Linked DNA regions of Homo sapiens: region 1 is linked to region 2. Evidence: promoter capture Hi-C in 16 types of primary human blood cells and fetal thymus (Javierre and others, 2016). All regions are on one chromosome and are shown on one strand. Each heading gives the region's core, a stretch centred on a gene start or on the middle of the fragment in contact. The rest is flanking DNA. Distances are from core to core; before and after follow the strand shown. Region 1 overlaps DCTN4 (dynactin subunit 4). Region 2 holds the start of ANXA6 (annexin A6).

Region 1 (4,296 bases), core at 386-2,885, 450 kb before region 2:
ACTTACTAACAATACTTTTACAGAAAACACGGTGCAGCTGGTGGTCTACTTTATCAAGTTTCATTTTAGAAAACATCATAGAAATTAAGGTTAGCAACCCAACTCCAGGATACCAAGTGAAAACAGCAAGTCTGCTGTTAGGCCAGAACTGTGGGCTACTTGCTGAACTATTTTATGGTTTACAATCAAAATGGTCTTATTTGACTCACCACATGACAAAAGTCTTAAACTTAGTAAGGGGGAAAGTTCTTAATATCCAGTTTTGGATTCAAGAGATTATAATAGTTAATTTCCCCTTCAAATCAATGGAAAGAATGCTAGTTGAGAATATTCTAAAAATCTAGCCTTTAAAATGTTTTCTGCATTCCAGAAATGAACCTGTCCACTCAGGTTTTCTTTGGGTTCTTTTCCAGGTCCCAAACAGAACAACTTAACTGAGTTAAAGAGGCAGAACAGGGAAGGGGTAGGAAGTAAGACAAATAAAGATTGCCCCCCTGTGGCAGCATTAATCCCTGGGTATTGTGGCAATATTGAAAACGAATGGAATCTGCTACCCCCTTGACATGACATGTAATTGTTTGCTTCTCAAATTCTTCTTAAAAGATCCATATTTTACTGGGAAAAAAATTAAGAACAACTAATACGTGTCCTGTATTCACTTAGAAAAAGAGGGCAAATGAGAGTGCCTTAACAACTTCACAGGTTTTTCCAATCATCATGATACTAAAGATAAAGTGACAATTCAGTTTTTCAGTTATATGGAAATCTATGGCAAAATGGCAGCCATTATGGCAATGAAGGGATATGTTTTAGACTGTTAGATGATATTTAACGGAATGCAGAAAGCAGTTGGTACATTGTGACCAATGCTGGATCATTAACAGCAGGTCTACCTTTGGGTTATCATTTAAGTTTCATCTGTGACATTGTGATCCTTAGTGAGATCAGATCAAGAGACAGTACAGAGTTTCTCAGGTGGTAAATACAATGCCATTCCAAGGAACACCCATCCCCTTTCCTAGGATGGAATTATGCTGCTGTTACTCAACGTGCAGGGTTCAGTGAGGGAGACACAGACTTACTGGTGTCAACAGGGGTGAGAGCAAGAGCAACAGCAGCTACCCTGTGTTCCCAATGCCTTGCCTATGCTCCCACTTTCTTAGCAATAGAATTCCGTAGTGCATGGGTACATCGTTATAAACAAGGCCTAATGAAGCAGCAGCTTCCACATTTTAACGCAGGTTTACGGTGATACTGTCCTTTGGGATCTGCCCTCCAGTGGAACCTTTTAAGGAAGAAGTGGGCCCAAGCTAAGTTCCACATGCTGGGTGAGCCAGATGACTTCTGTTCCCTGGTCACTTTCTTCAATGGGGCGAATGGGGGCTGCCAGGTTTTTAAAATCATGCTTCATCTTGAAGCACACGGTCACTTCACCCTCCTCACGCTGTGGTGTAACTTTGATGAAAATACCCACTTTGTTGGCCTTTCTGAAGGCTATAATGCTATGGAAAGAAAAAAAAGCAAGTATTAGGTAGATAAAAAAATCAGCCAAACCACTAAGACTTACAGTAAAAGTCTTTCACCTTATTCTTTCCTTCAGCACACACAGAAAACCTATAAACACTTTGTTCTTAACCTACCAAGTATTTTTTTGTTTTGTTTTGAGACACAGTCTCGCTCTGTCGCCCAGGCTGGAGTGCAATGGCTCCACCTTGGGTCACTGCAACCTCTGTTTCACGGGCTCAAGTAACTCTCCCATCTCAGCCTCCCGAGTAGCTGGGACTACAGGCATGCACCACCACACCTGGCTAGCTTTATATATTAATACGTATATTTTTTGGTGGAGATGGGGTTTCGCCACGTTGCCCAGGCTGGTCTCGAACACCAGGGCTCAGGTGATCTGCTTGCCTTGGCCTCCAAAAGTGCTGGGATTACGGGCATAAGCCAACACGTTGGCCATATATTTTTCTATGAGCTTATACTTTTCTGCTTTTCTAACCAACACAGATGGTACACACTATTCCATAACTTGCTTTTTTTTAACTCTGTTTATCACAAACACCTTTTGACGCTGGTATATACAGATCATCTACAATCTATGTAATGGTTGCACAGTATTCAATTATGTGTTTACCATAATTGGCATATACTGAGGTTGCTGACAACTTTTCTCTATTATAAACAATGGTGCTGCAAACATCCCTTTACATTTACCTCTGTGCAAATGCAATATTTCTATAGAACATAGACTCATACCGTGGAAAGTTATTTATTTATTTATTTTTTTGAGATGGAGTCTCGCTCTGTCACCCAGGCTGGAGTGCAGTGGCGCAATCTTGGCTCACCGCAACCTCCGCCTCCTGGGTTCCAGCGATTCTCCTGCCTCGGCCTCCTGAGTAGCTGGGATTACAGGTGCACACCATCACGCCCAGCTAATTTTTATAATTTTAGTAGAGATGGGGTTTCACCACATTGGTCAGACTGGTCTCGAACTCCTGATCTCAGGTGATCCACCCGCCTCAGCCTCCCAAAGTGCTGGGATCACAAGCATAAGCCAATGCACCCGGCCTTATTTTTATTTTTTAGAGACAAGGTTTTGCTCTGTTACCCAGGCTGGAGAGCAGTGGCACGATCATAGTTCATGGTAGCCTTGACCTCCTAAGCTCAAATGATCCTTCTGCCTTGGCCTCCCAAAGTGCTGGGATTATAGGCATGAGCCACCATGCCTGGCCATACTGTGGGAAGTTTTAATAACTCAGTGCTTTAAGGGAAATTTTGGAACACCATAAATCAAGAATGTTTTTGTAAATAACTTATGTAATTAGGAATTTTAGCACAAAAATGTCTCTTCATTGAGGTTTGCATTTCAATTTCCCCTCATTTGTGCATACAGTTTGTGCTTTAATAACTTAGTTTCTGAAAGTAAAAGGGCAATGAAATAAACAGAATTTGTCTACTACCCAAATGACATTCAGTTACTCTAAGAAAGGTTACTGGGATTACATATTTACATATTTATACAGTGTTAGTTTCCAGAAATCTGAAAGTTCTATTAAATCTAATAATGTAAAATATAATTAATTCAGTTTTTAATTACTCTATCATGTAATCAGGCTGAAATCTGATATCTCAGACAATCATTCCAGAAGTATATCTTGGCTTAACAAATTTCTGTACCTAATTAATTTGAGGACCCACATAAAGCAAGGATTTGAGAGAACACATTTTGTACTGTACAACTCAGCACATTTTGTATTACAGTAACTAACCAGACCTTTGATTTGTATGAGTCATGTAAAAAATAATTCAAACAGTTTAAAATGGTAAAAAGAAAAACATCAGTCTTTCTTTTTATCCTTAATTTCCCAGGCAACCACTGATACCTGGGAAGCTTTTCCAAAACAAATTTGGATTTCTGGTCCCTAGCTAGACCTGCTAAAAAAAATCCTCTGGGGTTAGGGTCTGGAATGCTATCGAACAACAAAACAAAACAACACTTGACCTGGTGCTTTCTGAAGTTAACCCACGTTTGGTATCACTAAACTAATCTCACCTTTGCCTTCACTTTATTTTTCTTTTCTTTTCTTTTTTTTTTTTTTTTGAGACGGAGTCTGGCTCTGTTGCCCAGGCTGGAGTGTAGTGGCGTGATCTGAGTTCACTGCAACCCCCGCCCCTAGGGTTCAAGTGATTCTCCCATCTCAGCCTCCCAAGAAGCTGGGATTACAGGCACGTGCCACCACGCCTGGCTAATTTTTGTATTTTTAGTAGAGACAGGATTTCGCCATGTTGGCCAGGCTGGTCTCAAACTCCTGACCTCAAGTGATCTGCCTGCCTCAGCCTCCCAAAGTGCTGGGATTACAGGCATCAGCCACCACACCTGGCTTCACTTTATTTTTCTAACCCACCTTGTTATCTCTTCTCTCTAATATCTTGTTGAGAAAGCTTTTGATCATTCTGTCAAAAAACCGTAAATGGGCCAGGCATGGTGGCTCACGCCTGTAATCCCAGCACTTTGGGAGACCAAGTCGGGTGGATCACTTTAGGTCAGGAGTTCAAGACCAGCCTGGGCAACATGGCAAAACCCCATCTCTACTAAAAATACAAAAATTGGCCAGGCGTGGTGGCGCTTGCCTGTAATACAAGCTCCTCAGGAGGCTGAGGCAGGAGAACTGCTTGAACTCGGGAGGTGGAGGTTGCAGTGAGCAGGAGATCACGCCATTGCACTCCAGCCTGGGCGACAGAGACTCCTTCTCTAAAAACAAAACAAAGACTGTGAATGTTCCCTGTGCCAGTTTA
Region 2 (4,911 bases), core at 1-2,500:
CATGTTTTGGGCAAGGGGGAAGGAATAATGGAGGGAAAAGGGCGGACTCTTGGGGGGAAACCAGAGTCCTTTCACAAACCCGGGAGCCATATGTCCAAATTTGGAATTGTCAGAGAAGACCCACTAGAATCTAGGGAAAGGAAGGAGGAGGCAGGAAGCCGTGGCCAGATTAGTTGTCCCAAAGGACCTCCTGCCCTTTCCCCTTGTAGGGCCTACAAGGGTTGTGCCAGGCTTCCCAAATCTATAATCAAGACTCCCAAACCTGCAATCATTCCATACAGCTGACAAATAAATCAGTTTTCAAAGCCATTGTTTCCTTTGAAAGAGACTGGGTTTCTCAACTATGGACTTGGAGAAGGAAATCCAGGCTCAGAGAGGGAAAGCCACCGCCCAAAGTCACACTGCAACAGGGGCTGGGATTCCGATTCAGGGTATTTTGCTCCCATGCTGGTATATGGGGAATTATTTGAAGCCCCCAAACTTTGGGAAGGCCTAGACCGCTTAGGGGATGCAGAAAGAAGGGTAGTGCCCCTGCCTCACCATAGGAGGCCTCGGAGCCCCGTTGGGAGACTGCATTCATAGACAAGCAGTGGCCCAAAGGGGATGGGGTCCAATGAGGCCCTGAGGTATGTACGACCGGACGTTCAGCTCTCTGCACGCAGGCAGCCCTCCCCCGACACCACACACAAGCCATTTTATAAGCAGCTGGAGGGTCCAACGCTCTTGCTCTCAGTCTTGGGCCTCAGCCACACCCTTCTCTGCGGGTCCTTTGACTGGCGTCCAGCTGACCCCAACCCCGGACCTTCAAAGTCTCTTGAGCCCCCCCAAATTAAGGCCGGCAGGACCAGCCCCTGGCTCAGCTCCGGCGCCCAGGACCCTCAACCAGACCCTCTGCAGCAACGGGACTCCCTCCCCTCCCCCTAGCCAGGGCGCCCTCCGCCCGCGCCTCTCCGCCCCGACCCCAGATTTGCTCCGCTGCGCTCCCCAGACACACCCAGTCTGCGACACTCTCGGGTTACCGCGCCCTCCCGTCCCTGCTCCTGGCGGGGGGTACCCATCAGCCGATGACTGGGCGCTTATTTCTTGTGTCCCTGCAGCCCCCGGGAAGGGGTTCCCAGAGCGACTCCCCTCTCCAGCCTCAGCCCACTCACCGCGCAGCGGAGGCCTCGGGTCGCAGACGGACGCACGGGCGCAGGGACTCGAGGACGCAGCGCTCGCTGGATCGGAGCCCGTTAGCCCAGCAGCAACCGCAGCGCGGGGCGGACCGGGAGGACAGCCGTGGGCTCCGAGCCGGACACGTGGCGCGCAGAGGCCAATCCGGCGCGCCCGCCTCCCTCCTCCACCCCACCCCTCTAGCTCCTTAGCTCTTGGAATCTTAGAATGTCACTAGCCCGAGGGGCTTGCCGGGAGAACCTCCTCAGTTTCCAGCCCCCGGATCTGAGACTGAGAAGGATTAGGGGCTTTGGCCAAGGTCACGCGGCCCTTCAGGGCTAGAAGTCAGGGCTCCTGACTCCGGGTTCTGGACACTTTCCCGCAAATTCTTATAAGTCGCCAAAGCTTTGTTGAGAAACAGAAAATTGAGGTTTGCCAGGGGCACTTTATCTGCCTGATCAGATTCCATGCCTCAACAGCCTCATTAGGTCGGTGACATTATTTACCCACTTTCAGGAGGAGAGCCCAGTCCAGTTCCTGGACCAAGGTCACACAAATAGTGGGTTGCGGAGGCAAGCTTCTTCGTGCTCTGGGAAGCAGGGAAGGCAGGCAGGGAGACCAGCAGTTGTAATCCAGCGCTAGAACAGGAAAAATTGATAAACTGAGAATACAGAGGAAACTGAGAATTATTGTCCCCAGGGGATTGGTAAGGAGAAGATGAGGAAGTTAGAAGAATTGGACAGATACCTGCGGAAAGTGTTCCAGGCAGAGGAAACTGCTGGAGCAAATGCTCCTAGCAGGAGGCCACCTGGCGCCTCCGAGGATCAGCAGGGGGGCCAGTGTGGCTGGAATGGAGTGAGTGGGAGGGAGAGGAGAGATAAGAGGGACCCAATCAGGTGGGACCTCCGGGGCCCTTGAAGGCACGCTGTCTTTTACTCTGAGTCAACTGGGGATCCATTGCAGGATATTGAGCAAAGAAAGGGTATTATTTTTGGGTAGATGAAATCCACACAACATAAAATTAACCATTTTAAAGTCAACAATTCAGTGGCATTTTGTACAGACACAATGTTGTGTATCCACCACCTCTATCTAGTTCCAAAATATTCTCTTCACGGAAAAATAAAACAGTATACCCACTGAGCAGTCACTCCTAACTTTCCCTTACCCCTCGTCTCTGGCAACCACCAATTTGCTTTCTGCTTCTGCGGATGTGCCTATTCTGGATATTTCATATACATGGAATCACATGAGATGCAACCCTTCTTGTCTGACTTCTTTCATGTGGCATTTTGTTTGTTTGTTTTTGTTGTTGTTTTTTCACTCTTGTCGCCCAGGCTGGAGTGCAGTGGCGTGATCTCTGCTCACCACAACTTCTGCCTCCTGGGTTCAAGCAATTCTCCTGCCTCAGCCTCCCGAGTAGTTGGGATTACAGGCATGCGCCACCACACCCAGCTAATTCTGTATTTTTAGTAGAGACGGGGTTTTTCCATGTTGGTCAGGTTGGTCTTGAACTCCCGACCTCAGGTGATCCACCTGCCTCGGCCTCCCAAAGTGCTGGGATTACAGGCGTGAGCCACCGTGCCTGGCCTCATGTGGCATGTTTTTGAAGTTCATCCACACTGTAGCATGTATCAGCACTCCATTCCTTTTTTTTTTTAGTTTCAGTTGGAGTTTTGCTCTTGTTGCCAAGGCTGGAGTGCAATGGCGTGATCTCGGCTCACTGCAACCTCCACCTCTCAGATTCAAGGAATTCTCCTGCCTCAGCCTTCCGAGCAGCTGGGATTACAGGCATGCACCACCACGTGTGGCTAATTTATTTTTGTATTTAGTAGAGATGGGGTTTTACCATGTTAGTTAGGCTGGTCTCGAACTCCTGACCTCAGGTGATCCACCCGCCTTTGCCTCCCAAAGTGCTGGGATTACAGGCATGCGCCACCGTGTCCGGTCCAGCACTCCATTCCTTTTAATGGCTGAATAATTTTCCGTTGTATAAGTACACTATAATTTGTTTATCCATCCATCTGTTGATGGATAGTGCATTGTTTCCCCCTTTTGCTGATTGTGAATAGTGCTGCTAATGAACATTTGCATACAAATACTTATTTGAGTACCTGTTTTCAATTGTCGTTGTGTATTTACCTAGGAATGAAACTGCTGGGTCATATAGTAATTCTACATTTAAGTTTTTGAGGAACTGCCAAACATTTTTTCAGAGTGGCTGCAACATTTTATATTCCCATCAGCCATGTCATGTATGAGGCTTTTAATTTCTCCATGTCCTTGCCAACACTTGTATTTTATTTTTTAAAAATTTGTACCCGGCCAGGCACAGTGGCTCATGCCTGTAATGCCAGTACTTTGGGAGGGCCGAGGTGGGTGAATTGCTTGAGCCCACGAGTTTGAGACCAGCCTGGACAACATGACGAAACCGCATCTCTACAAAAAATTAACCAGGGGTAGTGGCACATGCCTGCAATCCCAGCTACTGGAGAGGCTGAGGTGGGATGATCCCTTGAAGCTGGAAGGTAGAGGCTGCAGTGAGCCGTGATTGCACCACTGCACTCCAGCCTGGGCGACAGAGTGAGAACTTGTCTCAAAAAAACAAAAGTACAAAAAACTTGTGCTCTAGTCATTATGAAATGGCATCTATAATTGTGTTTTTGATTTGCATTTCCCTTCTGACTAATGATGTGGAGTATCTTTTTTGTGTGCTCATTGGCCACTATTTGTACATCTTCTTTGGAAAAATATCTAATCATGCTTTTTGCTCATTTTTAAATTGGATTTTTTGTCTTTTTTGTTGTTAAGTTATATGAGTTCTTTTTATATTCTGGATAAGACTTTTGTGTTTGTTTGAGACAGAGGCTCGTTCTGTTGCCCAGGCTGGAGTGCAGTGGTGCCATGTCGGCTCACTGCAACCTTCACCTCGTGGGTTCAAGCAATTCTTTCCGCCTCAGCCTCCCAAATAGCTGGGATTACAGGCACCTGCTACCATGCCCAGTTAATTTTTGTATTTTTTTAGTAGAGACGGGGATTCATCATGTTGGCCAGGTTGGTCTTGAACTCCTGACCTCAGGTGATCCACCTGCCTTGGCCTCCCAAAGTGCTGGGATTACAGGTGTGAGCCACCGCACCTGGCCAAGACATATTTTTTAAAGGGTCACTGAAGTCTCCTGTGTTGGAAATACTGAATACTGTTGGGGGAAGAGTAGAAGAAGGGGATCTGCTAGGAGATTTTGCAGTAATCCAGGCAAGAGACAGGCTGGTATAAATGCAGGTGGGGGAAGTGGTTGGAGATGGGATGTATTTGAAGGTTGAACATGATTTCCGAAGGATCAGGTGGGAGATGAGAAAGAGTCAAGAATGGCTTCAGGGATCCTGGCCTGAGCCACTGGAAGGATGGAGTTACCATCAACTGAAATGAGCAAGACTGCAGGGAAAGCAATTTTGGGAATTAGAAGTGGGGAAAAGATCAGGAGTTCAGTTTTTGACCAGTTTGTTGAACATTTCTATTAGACACCCAACAGGAGATGTCAAGTACGCAGTTGGCTAGTCAAGTCTGGAGTTCAAGAGATGAGATCCTTAAGGGAGAAGAGAACTAAATATGGAGTCCTAGTTCGGCAAAAGGAGTCAGGCTGGCAGGACCAAGGGAAAGCAAAAAGAGAAAGCAGATAAGCTATAAGTCTGCCTTTCTTCATGGCCCAGGATGCATAGCCCTCCTGTGCGAATAACTCACAATCTTATCTGCGCCCAGCT

The links. Contacts are between HindIII fragments. The CHiCAGO score rates a contact against its expected background, and 5 or more counts as called.
Region 1: a fragment that was not itself captured here is called in contact with the fragment with the promoter of ANXA6 in region 2 in 3 of 17 cell types (naive CD4 T cells, activated CD4 T cells and fetal thymus); the score reaches 6.1 in naive CD4 T cells.

What each region holds. Positions count from the first base shown.
Region 1 is chr5:150,709,861-150,714,156 of GRCh38, forward strand. It overlaps DCTN4 (dynactin subunit 4), which reads right to left. Exons shown (of 13, transcript NM_016221.4): 13 at 1-1,502. The coding sequence ends at 1,289. Among named protein-coding and RNA genes, the nearest start is that of RBM22, 11 kb to the left of the region's middle. The HindIII fragment of the contact is 3,508 bases long and covers 1-3,389 here.
Region 2 is chr5:151,156,529-151,161,439 of GRCh38, forward strand. ANXA6 (annexin A6) reads right to left here and starts at 1,251. Exons shown (of 26, transcript NM_001155.5): 1 at 1,152-1,251. RefSeq lists an enhancer at 1,412-2,268 and a silencer at 2,064-2,123. The HindIII fragment of the contact is 7,741 bases long and covers 1-1,555 here.